Regions from separate parts of the Homo sapiens genome. Here region 1 is linked to region 2. Evidence: promoter capture Hi-C in human tissues and cell types (Jung and others, 2019). All regions are on one chromosome and are shown on one strand. The core of a region is centred on a gene start or on the middle of the fragment in contact, and the rest is flanking DNA. Distances in the headings are between cores, read along the strand shown.

Region 1 (7,624 bases), core at 4,725-7,224, 820 kb after region 2:
CTCTGGATTAGACCTGAACATCTCTGAGCAGAGACACCTTCTAAGTTCTAAAAATAAACAGACACATGACCTCTGTCACCTTCCCTATTCTGAGGCTGGGGTCAGCTCTGCTGTTGTAAGGGTGTTATGAGAAATTCTAGATTCAGGAGCTCTGCGATTTTTCCTTCATAATCACTACCCAGGCACCAAGTATTCTCCTCCCCAGGAATAAAATCTTTATTTCATGCCTAGCAGAAGCCGGTCAGAAACAGACACAGCAGTAGATCCCTTACCCTTTTTATAACAGAAGATCTGGCATGTCTGAGTTCGGAGCCTTTGCAGGAATACTGAGATTTCCTTTGTCTCTTGACTGCAGAAAAATGGAGAAAGAGATAAATGAGTAACCACAGGGTCTGTCCACAGCTGTGCGGTGCTTACAACTGTGCTTTTTCATTCCACTTGAGCTGCCAGAGGACACTCCTACTACTAGTCTCATAGGTCCCAACTGTGTTGCCGACTTATCTGATTAGACCACTTGATCCAGAGAAGCAGCAAGGAGGAGCAGACAGACTGTGACTTTAGGTAAGTTACTCCCCTCCCTCCAAGGCTGTTTCCTCATCTATAAAATATATTAAATGGTACCTACTTCCCAGGTGTTATAAAAATTTAACAAGGGGCCGGGCACAGTGGCTCACACCTGTAATCCCAGCACTTTGGGAGGCTGAGGCAGGCGGATCACTTGAGGCCAGGAGTTCAAGAACAGCCTGGCCAACATGGTAAAACCCCATCTCTACTAAAATACAAAAATTAGCCAGGCACGGTGGCGAGCCCCTGTAATCCCAGCTACTCAGGAGGCTGAGGCAGGAGAATTGCTTGAACCCGGGAGGCGGAGGTTGCAGTGAGCAGAGATTACGCCACTGCACTCCAGCCTGGGAGACAGAGCGAGACTCCGTCTCGAAAAAAAAAAAAAAAAACCAAGGGAATGTGGATAAAAGCACCTGGTGCCACATGTAGGTGGTCTCTAAATGGTACTGCCCCTCCCTCCTTCCTTGCCCAATGTCAAGAAGTCAGATTTAAGGCTCCTTCAGAAGAAGACAGAAACATCCTCATCTGAAACTTGGGATTCCTACTCAGTTGCATTTTAGATACTAAAAAAACAAACCCCATGAAAAGAGCATCAAGGCTGAGGGAAAGGTTTTTGCCTTTGTCTTCTGGACTGCTGCGAGTTTTCTCTCTTAAAGCCTTCTTCTCCAACTCAAATCTCTCAATTGCCTTCAAAAACCAAGAAAAAGGGGGGCATTAGGGATTAATGCAAATCCTGGAGAAGGGTGGGGTTAGGGTCTAGGCGTTTCCTCTTGTTGGTGCACAAAAGACCTGGAGCAAAGTTTGTGGACAGTGCCTTGTCTTTCCAGGTGGTAGGTCCTGGTGGCCTCAGTGTCACTGACATCATCCCCCAGAGTGTCCCCACTGTCTCACACTGCCCCTTCTTCTAGGAGTATGTGATTTAGAGCAGGAATTAGAAATTAAACAAGCTATTGTTTAATCTCTTTGTAAAAGGGGGATAATAATATCTATCTTCCAGGGTTCTTTTTTTTTTTTGAGACGGAGTCTCGCTCTGTTGCCCAGGCTGGAATGCAGTGGTGCAATCTCGGCTCACTGCAAGCTCCGCCTCCTGGGTTCACCCCATTCTCCTGCCTCAGCCTCCCGAGTAGCTGGGACTACAGGCGCCTGCCACCACGCCCGGCTAATTTTTTGTATTTTTAGTAGAGATGGGGTTTCACCGTGTTAGCCAGGATGGTCTTGATCTCCTGACCTCCTCATCTGCCCACCTCGGCCTCCCAAAGTGCTGGGATTACAGGTGTGAGCCACCACGTCCAGCCTCTTCTAGGGTTCTTATAAGGGTCAAAAATAAAGTGTTTAATGTATTTTAAAACACTGGCAAAGAGGCTACCAGATAGGAGCTGTTCAATAAGGGGTCTCTATTATCTACCCTTGACCTCTCAAGAGAGACTTCTCTTGATCTCTGACTCTTCCCCACCCCCATCCTCCTACGCCCCTGAAAAGGAAGACAGAAAAATGAATGCTAGTGACCCAAGTTGCATTGATTGTCAACCAAGAGTCCAGCAATGAGCTTGGATAACAAAGTTAACAAACAAGTATGAGTCTGTGTTTTTGCCCTCAAGGGACTTACACTCTATTTGGAGAGCCAAATCAGCACTCGTGGAACAATTAAATGCTAAACTGCTGTGATTACGAATCAAAGTGAGGTCAACGTGGGCCAGAGCAGTCACAGAGGACTGTCCAGAAGAGGTGGACATGAGTGTTGGTGGCATCAGGCTCCTGAGCTTGATAAACTGGGAAATACCTCTCCAGGCCTCCCCCATCTTTCCCTTGCATCAGCACTCCCTGGTCTGCATGAGTGAAAGGTACTGGGCATGTGTGCAGGGGTGTGTGTATGTGTGTGTGCCAGTGGTGGGGGGGCGGTCACAGGGGTTAGTCTATGTATTAACATTGTTGCTCCAATTAAGTAAGCTGAAATTTAAGGCATGAGGAATGAATTGGATGGGTATGAGTCACTGTAGCAATATAGCAATATCTCTGATCTTTACCAATGTCATTATAGCAGACACTGTATGGCCTGGAAGGATGGATAAGATTTGCACAGAAAGAGGGGAGAGAAAGGATAGTTGAATGCTGAAAGAAGAGCAAGTTTTGGGGGGAAAGATGGTAAGACCAGCACTGGGCTGAGTTTACCTTTGAGATGACTTCAGGGCCTACAAGCAGGGCTGTTCTCCAGGAAGGCAACTCCCAAACCGGACCAATGACCGGCATTTTGGGGAAGTATTCAAATACACAGATTCCCGGGCCTTTGCATTAGAGATGCTTATTTCCTGGGTCTGCATTGGGTCCTGAATTTTTTATGCATTTATAGTGGCTCCTGAATAAAAAATTAGCCGGGCGTGGTGGCACGTGCCTATAATCCCACTACTTGGGAGGCTGAGGCAGGAGAATTGCTTGAACTTGGGAGGCGGAGGTTGCAGTGAGCTGAGATCGCACCATTGCACTCCAGCCTGGGCGACAAGAGTGAAACTCCATCTCAAAAAAAAAAAAAAAAACAAAACAAAGAGAGAAAAACCTGCAGGCGAACTTGCCTGCAGCTCACAGGATCTCTCAAAGAGTACATCTTCATCATTGTAATCCTCTGCCTCATAGCCACCATCGAGAAGCAGGTCTTTAGTAGCGACTTGTTGGTTGACATTTCTTTGCTGCTCTCATTTTCAAATCTCTCTATCTCCATATCTTAGAGCTCTTTAGATTTATGCCTCAGATTTCTTAAGTGCAGTTAAAAATAAGAAACAAATACACGACATTGCCAAAACCCAAAATAGCCAAAAAGACACTTACAGATGATTCACGCCTGTGTTCTTCCATCTTGTGGGAGCCTGCTACACAACAGCTACTTGCTTAACATTTAGCACTCCTGCCTCCCGAAAAGGTGTGTGTGTGTGTGTGTGTGTGTGTGCGCACGTGTGTGTGCGCGTGTGTTTGAGAATTATTGAAGGGTTTGTATTTTTTCCCAATAAAAATGTACCAAAATTAACCTTCAGACTTCTCATTTCAGGTCCACATGTAAGGATCTCATAAGTCACCATTCTGTCCCAATAATAAGTAAAGCTGAATAAACTGAAAAATCAACAACTCTTCTTAGATCATTCAGAGAAGTGAGGTCACAGGGCAAACTACTGCCTGAAAACTGAACAGACAGGTAGGTAGATACAGAGAATGCCAACTGGCAGGAGAATAAACCCATGGGCAGAAACCTCCATGGGAACCAGTAGCAAAGCCAAAACTGTCATAAATGAATTCTGGAGGCTCAGTGTAGACACCCTGAGAGGTAAAAACTCCAGCCATCACAAAAATGAACTCAAAATGAATCAAAATCAAATGTAAACATAAAACTATAAAACCCCTAGAAGACAAGAGGAGAACACCTAGGTGACCTTGGGTTTGGCCATGACTTTTTAGATATGACACAGAAGGTACAATCCATGAAGGAAATGATAAGTTAGATTTCGTTAAAATTAAAAATTTCTGCTCTGTGAAAAGACACTGTCAAGAGAATGAAGTGACAAGTCACATATTAGGAGAAAATATTTGCAAGAAAATCCAACAAAAGGCTGTTACCCAAAATATTCAAAGAGGCCGGGCGTGGTGGCTCACGCCTGTAATCCCAGCACTTTGGGAGGCCAAGGTGAGCGGATCACTTGAGGTCGGGAGTTTGAGACCAGCCTGGCCAACATGGTGAAACCCTGTCTCTACTAAAAATACAAAAATTAATTGGGCGTGGTGCCACATGTCTGTAATCCCAGCTATTAGGGAGGCTGAGGCAGGAGAATCGTTTGAACCCAGGAGGTGGAGGTTGCAGTGAGTCCAGATTGCACCACTGCACTCTAGCCTGGGTGACAGAGTGAGACTCCGTCTCAAAAAAACAAAAACAAAAAAACAACCCAAAACAAAATATTAAACGAAATCTTAAAACTCAACAATAAGAAAATAACCTGATTTAAAAATGGGCTAAAGGTTGGGCATGGTGGCTCACGCCTGTAATCTCAGCACTTTGGGAGGCCGAGGCGGGTGGAACACCTGAGGTCAGGAGGTCGAGACCAGCCTAGCCAACATGGTGAAACCCAGTCTCTACTAAAAATACAAAAAATGAGACGGGAGTGGTGGTGGGTGCCTGTAATCCCAGCTACTCAGGAGGCCGAGGCAGGAGAATCACTTGAACCTGGGAGGTAGAGGTTGCAGTGAGCCAAGATCACGCCACTGCACTCCTGCCCGGGTGACAGAGCAAGATTCTGTCTCAAAAAAAAAAAAATAGTGGGTGGGGGTTGGCGCTAAAGGTTGAACAGACACCTCAACAAGGAAGATCTGCAGACTATAAATAAGCACATAAAAAGACGGATGTCCCTGGGGAAATGAAAACTAAAACAGCAATGGGATACCACTACGCAGCAATCAGAATGACCAAAATCTAGAACACTGACAACACCAAATACTGGTGAGAACGTGGAGCCGCAAGAACCCTCATCCACTGCGGGTGGGAAGGAAAAATGTTAACACCACTTTGGAAGAGCGTTTGCCGGTTTCTTACAAAACTAAACTCTCACCATAGGATCTAGCAATTGTGCTCCCTGGTATTTACTTACATGAAGTGAAAACTTATGCCCACACAAAGACCTGGACATGGATGCTTACAGCAGTTTTATCTGTAATTGCCAAAACTTGGAGGCAACCAAGATGTCCCTGAGTAGTGGACAAATAAACCATGGTACGTTCAGACAATGGAATATTTGGCACTAAAAAGAAATGAACTATCAAGCCATGAAAAGATGGGTTGTTCCCAGAGGGAACTGGCCAGGCGCAGTGGCTCACGCCTGTAATCCCAGCACTTTCGGAGGCTGAGGCGGGCGGATCACGAGGTCAGGAGATCGAGACCACCCTGGCTAACATGGTGAAACCCCGTCTCTACTAAAAATACAAAAAATTAGCCTGGCGTGGTGGCGGGCGCCTGTAGTTCCAGCTATCGGGAGGCTGAGGCAGGAGAATGGTGTGAACCCGGGAGGCAGAGCTTGCAGTGAGCCGAGATCACGCCACTGCACTCCAGCCTGGACGAGAGTGTGAGACTCCATCTCAAAAAAAAAAAAAAAAAAAAAAAGATGTGGAGGAAACTAAAAAGCATACTAAGTGAAAGAAGCCAACGTAAAAAGGCTACGTACTATATGATTCCAACTATATGGCATTATGGGAAAGGTAAAACTGGGGAGAGTAAAAACAACAGTGGTTCCCAGGGGTTAGGGAGTAAAAAGAGGTGAACAGGTGGAGCACAGAGGACTGTTGGGACAGCGAAACTATGCTGTGTGACACTACAATGGTAGATACATGTCATTAAAGAGGTGAACAGGTGGAGCACAGAGGACTGTTGGGACAGCGAAACTATGCTGTGTGACACTACAATGGTAGATACATGTCATTAAAGAGGTGAACAGGTGGAGCACAGAGGACTGTTGGGACAGCGAAACTATGCTGTGTGACACTACAATGGTAGATACATGTCATCATTTGTCCAAATTCGTAGAATGTACAACACCAAGAATCCTATTGTAAACTCTGAATGTCGAGTGATGATGATGTAACAATGTAGGTCCGTTAATTCTAACTAATGTGCCACTATCTTATGGAATGTCAACAGTGGGGGAGATTGTGCATGCGCAGGAGCAGAGGGTGTATGAAAAAAGTGTACTCTCTGCTCGATTTCGCTGTGAACTTATAATTGCTCTAAAAAATAAAGTTTAGGCCGGGCGTGGTGGCTCACGCCTGTAATCCCAGCACTTTGAGAGACTGAGGTGGGTGGATCACTTGAGGTGGGGAGTTTGAGACCAGCCTGACCAACATGGTGGAACCCTTTCTCTACCAAAAATACAAAAAATTAGCCGGGTATGGTGGCACACGGCTGTAGTCCCAGCTACTCGGGAGGCTGAGGCAGGAAAATCACTTGAAAGGGAGGCGGAGGTTGCAGTGAGCCAACATCGCACCACTGCACTCCAGTCTGGCGACAGAGCAAGTCTCTGTCTCAAAAATAAATAAATAAAGTTTATTGGCCGGGCGCGGTGGCTCACGCCTGTAATCCTAGCACTTTGGGAGGCCAAGGCGGGCAGATCACGAAGTCAAGAGAGCGAGCCCATCCTGGCCAACATGGTGAAACCCCGTCTCTACTAAAAAATACAAAAATTAGCTGGGCATGGTGGCACGCACCTGTAGTCCCAGCTGCTCGGGAGGCTGAGGCAGGAGAATCGCTTGAACCCAAGAGACAGAGGTTGCAGTGAACCGAGATTGTGCCACTGCACTCTAGCCTAGCAACAAAGCGAGACTCCATCTCAAAAAAAAATAAAAAATGTTTATTAATTTTTAAAAAAATTAACTTTGAATACTCAATTGTGTAAACATGTTTTCAAATAAATGGAGAGGCCCCAGGGCACTGCAACACCTTGATGATCCCCGGGGCCCTTCCCTGTCAGAAGCTTTGTCTCAGCTCCAGCATAGGTAACTCACCAGGCTGTTGGCCGACGGCTCGGTACGCAGATTTATGTCAGCAATCTTTTGGTTCACCTGGTGCATGGAGCCAATAAGGCATGCTGGGAGGTTAGTCTGCTAAGGAAACTCAGGGTGATGATTACACACACAACAGGATGGGGCTTGTCTGGTGAGAAGGGCAGCCCCTGTCTGCACAGCCTCTCTCCTTAATTATTTTCTTTGCATTCAGAGTTTTCACATTTCTTTCTTCCTTTTTTCTGAGACAGGGCCACGCTTTGTTGCCCATGCTGGAGTGCAGTGATGCAATCATGGGTCACTGCAGCAGACCTCCCGGGCTCAATCGATCCTCCCACCTCAGCCTCCCAAGTAGCTGGGACTACTGGCGCACACCACCACCCCTGGCCTATTTTTAAAATTTCTTGTAGAGATGCAGTTTCGCCATGTTTCCCAGGCTGATCTCAAACTCCTGGGCTCAAGTGATCCACTCACCTCAGCCTCCCAAAGTGCTCAGATCACAGGCATGAGCCACCGCACCTAGCCCATATTTCTTTAT
Region 2 (7,810 bases), core at 250-2,749:
AGTAGAGACAAGGTTTCGCCACATTGGCCAGGCTGGTCTCGAATTCCTGGCCTCAAGTGATCTGCCTGCCTCAGCCTCCCAAAGTGCTGGGATTACAGACGTGAGCCACCATGCCCGGCCTAGGAACCTTTTCTAAACATGGATTGGAGCAAGAAGGTGCAGGGATAGGGGATGGAGTCACATCAGGCTGGGCCACAGGAGGTGGGAGTGCCAGAGACTGGCTGGGCCCTGGGCACAGAGGGGTTAACTACAAAGCAAATCACAGAGAGCGAGATCAATGGGTTACTGGCTGCAGAGAGAGGAAAAGGCAGCAGCAACGCAGAGAGGCAGAGAAGAGCCAGGCAGAAGAGCCTGCCACCTGGGGGAAATCAGGGACTGAGGAGGAAGTGGCCAGTGGCTACTCCAGAGGGAGTGCCCAACTCCGGCTCAGCAGAGGGGGCAGAGGAGAGGAGGGGCCTTAAAGGCAAAGGGGGAGAAGTAGAAGGCAGACCAGTACCTGCAGGGAGGCACCAAGGGGCAGCCGCTGAATCAGGAGGCCCACCCAGCCCGGCCATTCCACCCAGGATCAAGCCCACTGCCCAAGGCGGAGGTGGGTGTTGCCCATCCTGGGCTTTGGGGACCTACTGCATGCTGGGTGCTGGGATGGGGGCAGACATTGCCTTTCTTCCCTACTCCCTGCCTGACCCCCCTTTCCCCTACTTTGTCCCACCACCCCAGTGGTCTCAAGCCTGCAAGGAGATCCACAGGCAGTAGGAGACATGGGCTGTAGAGTGGGATGGGGGTGAGCATGGGTGCGGTGTGCACACACACAAGTTGTCAGAGGCACCACCTGTTACAAGCTCTCAGATGAGCACTCTAGCTTAAGAGGCAGGATACCAGGGTGGCAACAGCCCCAGAGCTGCCATTTCGAGTGTGATATTATCCTCCCATGTCCCCTCTCTGGGCCTCAATTTCCCTATGTGCAGAGAGGAAGCAGTGACCTACACGGTCTTCCCAGTTTTGCCATTGTGATGATCTCACTATACTGGACCCTCCAATGACTCAGGGATGTTACCCGTGTTTTGCTAAGGCTACAGCTTGTAGCCAGAGAAAGCCCTAAACCCATGTCCCAGGGTCTCCCCTGAGCTTCAGATCCCCATTGAGAAGGAAAACATACCAGTTTCTGGGTTTGGCCCCTCCCCCCATCGCCATATCTTCATCCTACTTCGCTTGTGCCTTCCCCAGCCTCGTGGGTTGAAAGTGTCCCTCAAATACCTAGGTAGTCCTCCAGGCAGGACTCCAGGGGTGTTCCTTAGGAAACTGAGGAACTCTCACCCCTTGAACACCACGAGCTTGCTCACACAGTGACACTCAGCGATGACTTTGGCTCTGCTCTCCCCTCCTCCATCTCCCACGAGCTTCCAGCCCAGAACACCTGGCCAGACCCAGGTCGGGGGAGTTAGATCCCGGGGTCAAGCAACCAGAACTGGGGGCTCTTGCCTGAGGATTCCAGCTTCTCTTCCCAGGTGCCCGTCTGATGGGGAGATGGCTGATGCCCAGAACATTTCACTGGACAGCCCAGGGAGTGTGGGGGCCGTGGCAGTGCCTGTGGTCTTTGCCCTAATCTTCCTGCTGGGCACAGTGGGCAATGGGCTGGTGCTGGCAGTGCTCCTGCAGCCTGGCCCGAGTGCCTGGCAGGAGCCTGGCAGCACCACGGACCTGTTCATCCTCAACCTGGCGGTGGCTGACCTCTGCTTCATCCTGTGCTGCGTGCCCTTCCAGGCCACCATCTACACGCTGGATGCCTGGCTCTTTGGGGCCCTCGTCTGCAAGGCCGTGCACCTGCTCATCTACCTCACCATGTACGCCAGCAGCTTTACGCTGGCTGCTGTCTCCGTGGACAGGTGCGCTGTGCCTGGGGCCTGGCTGGGCAGGGCTGTGGGGGCGGGGGTTGGGGGAGGAGTCCTGAACAGATCCTCACTGGCCTTAGGAAGGAGAGAGTGGGGGACCAGAAAGGGAGGTGGGTGGGAGGAAACAAAAGCTCCCTGACCCCTCGCAAGCAGCCTCTGGGCACCTGCAGGGCGTGCTTGAGGGGACTGTCCTGCCCTTCCCCTCCTCCACTGTGAACTTCCAGAGGACGCCTCTGAGTCTCAAGTGGCAGCACAGGGTCTGGCACATAGTAAGTGCTCTGTAAGCGCGAAATGAATCGCAAAAGAAGCTCACGAATGCGTTCATCAGTTTTTTTGTTTTGTTTTGTTTTGTTGTTTTTTTTTTTTGGATCTTGGCTCACTGCAACCTCTGCCTCCTGGGTTCCAGCGATTCTCCTGCCACAGCCTCCTGAGTAGCTGGGATTACAGGCCACCACACCTGGCTAATTTTTTGTATTTTTAGTAGAAACGGGGTTTTGCCATGTTGGACAGGCTGGTCTCGAACCCCTGACCTCAAGTGATCCGCCCGCCTCGGCCTCCCAAGTGCTGGGATTACAGGCGTGAGCCACCGCGCCCAGCCCAGCTATTTTCTAACTGCCCACACCTGGCCAAGCTGTGCACACATCTGCTTCCACAGCTTGAAACTTGGGGTCAAATCCAGGCTCACTCCAGCTGATGACCCTGGGCAAGTCACTTCTCTCTGGACCTCATCTGACGCATCCATAAAATAATCCTAGAAATAACAAGTCACCGGGATCGGGCCCTTGCTAGGTGCAAGGGCCTAAGCACCTTGCGCGTTCACACCCTTAATCCCCGCCACGTCCCCCACGGTTCACAGGAGGCGCACTGGGCCGCAGGGCCCGGGCGCGGGACGTGGCGCGGGCCCCTGCGGGAGGGCACCTGCCCGCCCCGCTGACCAGGCGCCCTCCGCAGGTACCTGGCCGTGCGGCACCCGCTGCGCTCGCGCGCCCTGCGCACGCCGCGTAACGCCCGCGCCGCAGTGGGGCTGGTGTGGCTGCTGGCGGCGCTCTTCTCGGCGCCCTACCTCAGCTACTACGGCACCGTGCGCTACGGCGCGCTGGAGCTCTGCGTGCCCGCCTGGGAGGACGCGCGCCGCCGCGCCCTGGACGTGGCCACCTTCGCTGCCGGCTACCTGCTGCCCGTGGCTGTGGTGAGCCTGGCCTACGGGCGCACGCTGCGCTTCCTGTGGGCCGCCGTGGGTCCCGCGGGCGCGGCGGCGGCCGAGGCGCGGCGGAGGGCGACGGGCCGCGCGGGGCGCGCCATGCTGGCGGTGGCCGCGCTCTACGCGCTCTGCTGGGGTCCGCACCACGCGCTCATCCTGTGCTTCTGGTACGGCCGCTTCGCCTTCAGCCCGGCCACCTACGCCTGCCGCCTGGCCTCACACTGCCTGGCCTACGCCAACTCCTGCCTCAACCCGCTCGTCTACGCGCTCGCCTCGCGCCACTTCCGCGCGCGCTTCCGCCGCCTGTGGCCGTGCGGCCGCCGACGCCGCCACCGTGCCCGCCGCGCCTTGCGTCGCGTCCGCCCCGCGTCCTCGGGCCCACCCGGCTGCCCCGGAGACGCCCGGCCTAGCGGGAGGCTGCTGGCTGGTGGCGGCCAGGGCCCGGAGCCCAGGGAGGGACCCGTCCACGGCGGAGAGGCTGCCCGAGGACCGGAATAAACCCTGCCGCCTGGACTCCGCCTGTGTCCGTCTGTCTCACTCCCGTTCTCCGAAGGCGGGACGCCACCGGGCCAGGGATGGGGCAATGCCACGAGCTCTCTGAGGGGCGTTGAGTGGAGCGACTTGTCCCCGCTCCACAGCGGAGCACCAGCCCAGTGGACACCCCTGGGTGTGAATATGAACAGCACAGCCCGCCCCCAGCAGGGCAGCCCCCAGAGCCTGCCCAGAGCCAGCCTGGCAGTCCCTCTGCCCATTCTTCCAACTGGGTGACACCTAGGCCCTGCTTCCTCCACCACCTCTTAACTATCTCCTTCTTGGTTCCAAGCTCAGTCCTAGGTAATTTAACATCAACAGCTAATAAATGGCTAATATTTAAGTGGGACCAGGCGCTTGGCTCATGCCTGTAATCTCAGCGTTTTGGGAGGTCGAGGCGGGAGGATCGCTTGAGGCAGCAGTTCAAGGCTGCAGTGAGCCATGATCACGCTACTGCATTCCAGCCTAGACAGCAAAGCAAGACCTTGTCTCTAAAAACATTTATTAAGCAGGTACCATATGCCTCATGCTACATTCTTTGTCAAAACAGCTTTGCAAATAGATATGATTAACCTTTCCTTTTTTTTTTTTTTTTTTTTTGTCTTTTAGAGACAGAGTTTTGTCTCCCAGGTTGGACTACAGTGGCGCCATCTCGGCTCACTGCAACCTCCGTCCCCCGGGTTCAAGCAATTCTCCTGCCTCAGCCTCCAGAGTAGCTGGGATTACAGGCGCCCACCACCACATCCGACTAATTTTTTTTTTTAATAGAGATGGGGTTTCACCATTTTGGACAGGCTGGTCTTGAACTCCTGACCGCAGATGATCCGTCCGCCTCGGCCTCCCAAAGTGCTGGGATAACAGGCGTGAACCACTGTGCCCGGCTGTTTAGCCCCATTTTACAGATGTAGAAATCAAGGATCATAGAGATTTAGTGATTTGCCACACCGCTGGTGTTTGGCAGAGGTTGGATACAAACCCATGGCTGTGTAACTTTTTCTTTTTTTTTCTATTATTATTATTATTATTATTTTTGAGAGAGAGAGAGAGATTGTTATCCAGGCTGCAGTGCAGTGGCACAATCTTGGCTCAAGACAACCTCCGCCTCCCAGGTTCAAGCGATTCTCCTGCCTCAGCCTCCCGACTAGCTGCAACTATAGGCGTATGCCACCACACCCGGCTAATTTTTGTATTTTTTTATTATTTTTATTTTTTGGTAGAGATGGGGTTTCACCGTGTTGGCCAGGCTGGTCTTGAACTCCTGACCTCAAGCGATCCGCCGGCATTGGCCTCCCAAAGTGCTGGGATTACAGGCGTGAGCCACCGCGCCCGGCCCAGAGGTAACATTTGACATGTATTTTCTTGGACAAAGGTGGGGAGGGGCATGCCAGGTAGAGCAACAGCCTGTGCAAGGCAGGGGACGTGCAGGGCAGTAAGTGGCTCCTGCAGCTGAGGCAGGGAGAGATTGGGGCAGGGGAGGCCTGGAGGGCAGGAGCTTCATCCTTCAGGCAGATGGTGATGCCACTGAAGGTTTTCAGGAGAGGAGGGGGCCTATCAGATGTGCAGTTCAGAAAGCTCCCAGGGCTGCTGTGTACAAGCTGGAATGGAGGCCTAGACTTGGCAGAGGACTCCGATCAGGTGGGTTCTCCTGGGCCCTTCTTGGAAGTGAGGAGACTGGTAAAGAGTCTGCTCCGTGAGCTCTGTTGAGGAAAGCCAACGAGGCCTGGCCTAGGACTGGGAAGATATTTTTGCCGTGGACTTGGCAGGAAGATGGATGGCCTGCTGCCAGGCTTGGGCTTGGTTCCCGAGGCTCCGAGGTTTGCTTCAGGGGGCTAATGAAACACTTGGAAGAGCAGATGGTCGTAATAATAATAACTCAGGAGAGAATTGTGTGTCCAGTAGAGCCCAAGGCAGGCAAGAGGGTCGGAGCGGAGGCTGAATTGAGTCCTGGCCACTGCTCCCCAGGGCCTGAGAGAACCCTCCTGATCTGAGCCCTCTGTCAAGTGTAGGGCTGAGCCTGGGGCAGCCCTGGGGACCTGGAAAGGCACTTTTCTTAGTTGGAAGGAGGTTTGGATTCTACAACCTTCTTACCTTCCTGTTTGTGCAAACCTCTTAAGAAGAGGCCTGGCCGGATCACGAGGTCAGGAGATCGAGACCATCCTGGCTAACACAGTGAAACACCATATCTACTAAAAATACAAAAAATTAGCTGGGCGTGGTGGCAGGTGCCTGTAGTCCCAGCTACTCGGGAGGCTGAGACAGGAAAATGGCGTGAACCCGGGAGACAGAGCTTCCAGTGAGCCGAGATCACGCCACTGCACTCCAGCCTGGGGGACAGAGCGAGACTCCGTCTCAAAAAAAAAAAAAAATTACTCTTTAGGGGGCCTGGCGCAGTAGCTCACGCCTGTAATCCTAGCACTTTGGGAGGCTGAGACGGGTGGATACTAGGTCAGGAGTTCAAGACCAGCTTGGCCAAGATGCTGAAACCCCATCTCTACTAAAAATACAAAAAAAAAATTGGTCGGCCTTGGTGGTACACACCTGTAATCCCAGCTACTCGGGAGGCTGAGGCAGGAGAATCGCTTGAACCCAGGCAGCAGAGGTTGCAGTGAGCCAAGATCGCGCCACTGCACTCCAGCCTGGGTGACAGAGCAAGACTCTGTCTCAAAAAAGAAAAAAAAGATTTACTCTTTAGGGAGCTCTTTCTGGCTGCCCAGGCAGGCTTTCATAGGGAGGAAGTACAGAGTGTGCTGACTGGAGCAGAGAGGTCAGTCAGGAGGCTCGTGTGAGAATCCAGAGAGAAAGACATAGAGGTATTGGAAGTGGTGGGGAGACATGGACAGATGGGTCAGCCACTTAGGAGGTACAATTGCTAGGACTTGGTGACTGTTGGAGGGTAAGGAGGAGAGACGTGTCCCAGATGACACCCCAGACTTCTGGCTTGGGCTATTTGGGGGTGGCAGTGGGGATAACTGAGGGGGACAGTTTTGGTGGTCATGGTGGGGGTGCCCGCAGAATAGCGGTGTACTCTGAGTACGTGCCACGTTTCACAACCACTGTTTGCAGGTGGGCAAGGGCAGGGAGCTTGTCCTTTCATTCCCTGCTGTCCTCCCACCTAGAACACTGCCTAGCACATAGCAAGCACTAAGTCAATAAGTCAATATTTATTTTTATTTTTATTTTTATTTTTTGAGATGGAGTCTCACTCTTTTGCCCGGGCTGGGGTGAAGTGGCTGAATCTTGGCTCACTGCAACCTCCACCTCCTGGGTTCAAGTGATTCTCCGGCCTCAGCCTCCCAAGTAGCTGGGATTACAGGTGGGCGCCACCACGTCTGGCTAATTTTTGTATTTTTGGTAGAGATGGGGTTTCGTCGTGTTGGCCAGGCTGGTCTTGAACTCCTGACCTCAGGTGATCCACCTGCCTTGGCCTCCCAAAGTGTTAGGATTACACGTGTGAGCCACTGCGCCTAGCCCAATATTTCTAACATGAAAGAAACACGAAGTATAAGGCAAAGGATCTTAACCCGCAAGGTGAAATCACCAAATGTTTCTTCTTCCTGCCATCTTCTAAGCCTTCCTCCGCACCTCCCCGACTCTTCAGTAATTCGCAGAGCAGCCAGCAACCAGCAAAACTCACCCCTGTGAGTACAACCTCAGCTGAGCTCTCTTTCCTGCCCTGGCCCATGGCCAGCTCAGGGACCACTGAGCTCTCTATCCTGCCCAGTCCAGCCAGCTCAGGGACCACTGAGCTCTCTATCCTGCCCAGTCCAGCCAGCTCAGGGACCACTTGGGTGTTTTGTGACTCACTCCAGTGTCTGAGGCCGACTTCATCTGGCTGGCTCTTCAGACACAATTGGGGTTACAGGAAATATCCTGGCTGGAAATGGGGTGAGGCAGATTGGCTGTCTACATGGCTGTCTGGCAAGTGTTTGATGACTGACCTATAAGCCACCTTCAGTCAAGCCTTTGGTTCACTGTCTACATGGCCAGGGAGGGAGTCAACAATAGACACTCCACCTCCGCAACGGCCAGTTCTCCTGGATCCATGGCTCCAGGGATGGAGGATGCTGCAGGAGACACAGGCCTTGCTTCCCAGCTAAGGACTGTGGGTCATCTCAGGGCGATTTCACAGTCCCAGCATGCCCCAGCTCTCAGCTCTGCAAATACCAAGCAGCCTGCCTAGGGGACAGTG

The links. The method cuts DNA at HindIII sites, captures the fragments that hold promoters and counts their contacts. A contact is called where the count stands out against the background at its distance.
Region 1: a fragment that was not itself captured here is called in contact with the fragment with the promoter of GALR3 in region 2 in 1 of the 25 tissues and cell types used here (spleen).

What each region holds. Positions count from the first base shown.
Region 1 is chr22:38,638,474-38,646,097 of GRCh38, forward strand. It overlaps FAM227A (family with sequence similarity 227 member A), which reads right to left. Exons shown (of 17, transcript NM_001013647.2): 3 at 7,090-7,172; 4 at 1,182-1,251; 5 at 273-349. Among named protein-coding and RNA genes, the nearest start is that of FAM227A, 14 kb to the right of the region's middle. The HindIII fragment of the contact is 6,838 bases long and covers 2,556-7,624 here.
Region 2 is chr22:37,821,883-37,829,692 of GRCh38, forward strand. GALR3 (galanin receptor 3) reads left to right here and starts at 1,500. Exons shown (of 2, transcript NM_003614.2): 1 at 1,500-1,883; 2 at 2,841-3,603. The coding sequence starts at 1,525. The coding sequence ends at 3,588. The HindIII fragment of the contact is 28,947 bases long and covers 1-7,810 here.